Regions from separate parts of the Homo sapiens genome. Here region 1 is linked to region 2. The links are contacts of gene promoters, found by promoter capture Hi-C in blood cells and fetal thymus (Javierre and others, 2016). All regions are on one chromosome and are shown on one strand. Each heading gives the region's core, a stretch centred on a gene start or on the middle of the fragment in contact. The rest is flanking DNA. Distances are from core to core; before and after follow the strand shown.

The links. Contacts are between HindIII fragments. The CHiCAGO score rates a contact against its expected background, and 5 or more counts as called.
Region 1: a contact is called between a fragment that was not itself captured here and the fragment with the promoter of GLCCI1 in region 2, in 1 of 17 cell types (erythroblasts). The highest score is 5.2, in erythroblasts.

What each region holds. Positions count from the first base shown.
Region 1 is chr7:12,713,429-12,716,128 of GRCh38, reverse strand. No RefSeq gene overlaps it. Among named protein-coding and RNA genes, the nearest start is that of ARL4A, 27 kb to the right of the region's middle. RefSeq lists an enhancer at 1-535. The HindIII fragment of the contact is 264 bases long and covers 1,309-1,572 here.
Region 2 is chr7:7,967,395-7,970,094 of GRCh38, reverse strand. It overlaps GLCCI1 (glucocorticoid induced 1), which reads right to left and starts at 1,299. Exons shown (of 8, transcript NM_138426.4): 1 at 288-1,299. The coding sequence starts at 744. GLCCI1-DT (GLCCI1 divergent transcript) reads left to right here and starts at 1,343. Exons shown (of 5, transcript NR_110018.1): 1 at 1,343-1,551. RefSeq lists silencers at 407-486, 577-636, 717-1,116, 1,327-1,476. The HindIII fragment of the contact is 4,760 bases long and covers 1-2,304 here.

The sequences.
Region 1 (2,700 bases), core at 191-2,690, 4.7 Mb before region 2:
TGACAGGGTCTGTTGTTCAAAGCCCCACTAGCACGGTAAGCCATTAAACCAGCAGTTGTGAAGCTGCATTATAACACAGGGACAGTCACTCAGCTCAACACTTTACATTACAATAGGCAAGCCTCTGTGAGGCAGCTTTGAAATCCCAGAACTGTGGTCAAACTACGGACCTCCTGGAAGGACAAAGTGTTCTGTTTGTGTAGCACAAGGGTGTGGCTTTTGTAGCTAGTAAAATAATCTGAACACAAAGGCCTCCAGATCCTGCAGAGCACTCTGCAGTGAACTGACTCAGCGGAAAGCGGTGGGAAAGGAAGCTGGTTCTTAGATTTCAGAACCCTCCAAAGCTACACCCACCTCGCTTAGTTCTGACCCTGTGCAACAGGAAGGGGGTTTCATCAGCCAATGTGTGTGCACGCCCACGCAGACATATCCACTAGGCAGAAGACAGGATGAGAAACGCGGTGGGAAGGAACTCTAGTGGAGCCCAGTGCCGTCTCTTTGCAGCCTCTTGCCAAACTCCTGCTTTTTCTTCCTTTCACTGATGCAAAACCTAGTTGCTCTCATGGATTGAGGGAGGGAAGCCCTCTTATGATGTGGAGCCACTTTTAGCAACTGCTCTGAAAGAGGCTGCAAAATCAAACATCCCAGTTAGCATTGGGTGGATTGCTGAATATTGTGAAATAATCATAGAAGCTTTGATTGTCGATGTCCACTGGAGATCTGTGTGCCGGGAGCAAAATATTGGTATGTTACACATTTCATGTACGCAAATTAATTGGACAGTTAAAATCTATCAAAGGCGTCAATGGTAGGCTTTTTCTGTTTCTATTCACACACAGCCCCCACTGCCACCACCAATTTAGGCTTCATCTCAATAAACAGAATACATGTTTAGAAACTTATATAATTTAAAACCCTCTGATCCCTGAAAATTAAGAAAAAGGGGTCTGAATTTTTCATAATCAGTCCATATTGAATAGATTCCCCTCCTAATTGCTCAATTTTAATTTCATCAGATCATTTTGCCTAAAGACCACTTAGCCACCATCACCAAAAAAATGTGTAAACTTCTTGTGAAAAAGACTATACATATCAATGATCTGTGGAACTTAAATTCCAAGGAAACACATATTCAGAAAAAAAAATCATTCACTAGGATAAACCAGAAACACTATATTGATTTACCTTTCCTGAAACTACTAAAAAGTCCAGTAACTTAAGAACACATTTTTAAAATTTAATTCATTAAATTACATATAATACATTTCCAAAAAAGTTCAAAATATGCATGGACAGTTAGCAGAAGCTTTATTGTGAGATTTTTGCGAAAAAAAATTTATAAAGTTAACCCCAAAGCAACCTAATATGTTGATAGTCTCCTGCAAATTAAAATTCAATACACTATTGAATATTTTTATTATAGTTTTGAAAACAAAAGGTTAAAATACCTATAATTGGTAAAATATATGACTTCCCTTCCCTTCACCAAGATTACTAAATGTAATAGAGTGGGTTTTGTGTATGTGTGTTTGTGTGTGTGGTTTTTGTTGGACAGCGATTTATTTCAAAGCTTTTCTTTGTATAACTAGATTACATGACTCCTTTTCTAAATGTTCTGAAGGGCACAATTGGGAGCAGTAAAAGATAAACTGCACTGTCTATAATTATGTGATAATAGAACTCCAAGAAAGGTGAAGTTTCTTACAAAGTATATGGGAGTTAGAGAATATTTCTATCTACAATGTACTGTCCTTGAGAATGAACATTTGTCTTTGGAAGATGTGTATTCACCCAAACAGTGTGTACTGAATATGTAGTATACACTAGGCAGTGTTTTAGGTTCTAGGAATACAGTGGGGAACAAGGCAGAAAACTTTCCTACTCTCTTGGACCCCATAGCCCAGTGAAGGAAGACAAACATTAAACACATAAACAACTAAGTAAACAAGAAAATATCAAGTCATGGTAAGTGCAAGGAGAAAATTACAACAGAATGTAATTTTACTTAGCAAATAAAAATGCAGGAGACTGATTTATATGTGTGTGTGTGTGTGGATGTGGAAGGATGGCTGGATGGATAGATAAGAGAGTTCAGGAGAGAGAGACACACACATCAGGACACACTACCCCAAAATATGGCACCTTGGCATATTGAATATTTTAAGCTGAAGGAATTTGAGAAAATAGCATAAGCAGGAAGGTCTCTGTGAAGTTCCGCCTCCCTTCTCCCCTGAAGCAGATCATAAAACCTAGGAAGCATGTTCTGACCTTCCCTTGAAGCAGTGCATAAGATCCTTATGTGAGAGGTGCTTCCCTATTCCTGGAGGAAAGGAATATCCTTATCTCCAAGGACACAGAGTCACAGAGAGTAATCTGAACAAATAAGCCTTGACAAGTTTCTCCCAGCTCATTACATGTAGCTCATATCCCCTTTGTCCTATCATATTTCTCCATGACTTTCCACTCTTCATCAAACCTACTATGGAAAAACACTCAAGTTTAAAACTGTTTATTGAGTTTTCATTTCCTTCTGAAGGTTCCCTTGTCACGGAAAACTGATATTAAATAAATGTGTATGCTTTTTGCTTGTTAGTCTTTCGTTTGATACAGGGGTCTCGAGCACTGAACCTAAAATAAGTAGAGTAAAACTATTTTTTCTCCCCTACAATACACACACACTCTTAATGCTGCTAGGACCGT
Region 2 (2,700 bases), core at 50-2,549:
ACGGCAAACACACGAATGAGCTAGCCAGCTCTTAAACTGAAAAACCTCTCGAAGCAGGCGAGTGATGGAAGAGAGACTCTGAGGGGCGGCATGAGGGTCAAATAAAAGTCGCTTTTCAGTTCGCTCCTCCAAGCCCCACAGCGACCGCAGGGGGGTGAGATTCCCAAAGCCACTTTCACACCTTCGATAATGCACTAGCAAAGAGAAGCCCGAAGAGGCTGAAGTTTCCACGGAGGGCACCGTCGGGGAGACGCAGCCCGGGAGGACGGGAGGGTTGGGCTCGCTACCTCTGCACACGGGCGAGCCGGGGCTCCGTCTCTCAGGTGAGCTGCTCCTCCGGTGGCTCTCTGGGGACCGTCTCGGGCGGCCCTTGGCCCGCGGCGCCTGCTCGGCCGGGGCTGCGGCCGCCGGCGGCGTCGGGCTGGACGGGCTGGGGCCGCGGGCCGCGCCGGGCCCCGGGAGGCTGCCCAGCGAGGCGGCGGCAGCGGCGACGGGCGGACGCGTGGGACTGTGCTGGCTGCCCCGCAAGAGCTGGTAGGGCACCGTGGCGCGGATGGGCTGCAGCAGCCGGCCGGCTCCCGCAGCCGGGGCGCAGCCCACGCCGCCGCCGCCGCCCGCACCGTTCCCGCTCCCGGCGGCGGCGACGGCGGGCGGGGACCCCGCGGCGCTGCGCCTCATCCTCTGCGACGGGGGATGAGGGGTCTGAGAGGAACTGGAGGAGGAGGAGGAGGAGGCAGTGGACATGGTGGCTCTGCGGGCCCTGGACGCCGCCGGCCGACACGGAGGCGCGGGGCGGGAGGCGCGCGAGCGTGTGGGAGCCGGCGCGATAGTGCGTGCGAGTGTGTAAGGGGGAGGGGCGGGGGTATCGCTGTGGGGGAGGAGTCTCGGGGCTCCCCCTCCCCAACGCACACCCCCGCCGCCTCGGCGAGGGGGGAGGGGAAGGCTGCGAAAACAAACGTCCAACGGCCGCAACCGCCCGGCTGGGCTCGGTGTGGCGGTCACGGCCGGGGCCGCAAGGAGCCCGGAGCCGCCGCCGCCACCGCTCCAGGCATCGTGCTGACAGGGCAACGGCCCGGATCACGCAGCCCCGAGGGCCGCTCGCAGCCTTCTCCTCAGCCCTCGCAGGGCTGCACGCACGGGAGAACCCGGCAGCTGCAAGGAGGGCCGGGACCCCTGCTTCTGGGGACCAGGGTAGAGAGAAAGGGCCTCGAGGTGCTGGCGCTCCTCGGAGTCCGCGCCACCGCAAACGCCGCCGCCGCCGCCGCCGCTTCTACCCACTCCTCACTCCGAATGGCAACTAATTCGCCCCAGCCGCACCCCGCCCCCGGCACCGCCTCCCAGCGCCCAGGACCCGGCAGCTGCCGCAGCGAGCATTTCCATTGGCTTAGGCGCTCCCCACTAGAACTCGAGTGATTGGTTCTGGAATAGGAGTGAGAGAAGCAGTGTCCAATGACAATGGTGCCTCCTACTTTGAAGGCGGGGCGTGAGGGGTGGCAGCGTGAGGTGGGGGCTGTGCGCGCAGGGAGGAGCGTAAAAGTTGACAGCCTTGAGGTAAGTGCGAGACTAGGAAAGTGGGACTGTGTGTGTCCTGCGCGTGTCCCGACACCCCCAGACACGCAAACGCCCCGCTAGGCAGGTTGCAGGGGCTCCACCCTCCTGGGCCGTCTGTATGACTTGAGACACAGGACACATGAGGCAAACTTTAATTTGCAAGTACACCTGCATCCGGTGGGATGTTTTAGTTAGAACCAGAAGACTGGATCTCTTTTAGTAAGCTGAGTTTTCGTGACCAGTAGCCTTATTAATCAAAAGAACTTCTGGTGATCAGGAGAAATGTCTGGAACCTGCACTGAACAAAGTAAAATACTCTTACAGCCTAACATTTGTAGTTATGCAGTGAAAAGAGATTATCAAGTTCTATGTTCCAAGACAATAACACTGAATAGCAGGGGTCAACAAGGAATTTTATGTCATTACACCATCAGTTAGATATATTAATGAAGGGCGCCCCTGGCTTTTCCGAAGCAGATAGCTTCTTGGGAGGAATAAATACCAGATGTAATGTAATAATCCATTGTGGTAAATTTGTTTTTTATTCTGTAATGAAACTGAAAGCGTACAAAGATTTTGGATGACTATCAAAAACATAAATTTACCCCACAGTAAACCAAGGTTTTAAACCTTAATCGGGAGCAATTAATGTAAGGATCTTCATCAGATAACTTTCATTAATTTTCAAGAGGTTAAAAGAGAAGCACAATGTCAAATTGGTCTGCTCGTGGTGTCTGCCCACACTGACAAGCTTCCTCTGATTTCAGGCACTATATGCAGGGGTCACTTTCACGTACAGGAGCCATCCTTCTTTTCTTCCTTGTGTGTTCAGACGAGAAAGCATACTAGGTTCAGTAAAAAAATTGATGAAACTCAATAAAAATACAAAAATTTCATGCAGTACTTCATCCAAGTAAAACTAGTGATAGTTCCTCAGTTTACCACATATTATAATAAGAGCTAACATTTATTCACCATGTGCCAGCCGCTATTCTAAGAACATTATGTGTGTTAATTCATTCAGTCCTCATATAATCCACAAGGTAGATACTATTATTATCCTTACTGTGGTCTCAGTTGTGGCATAAATAAGCTGTCTTGCCTGAGATCACATAGTTAGTATATGGGGAGCTAAAAATTTCACCCAGA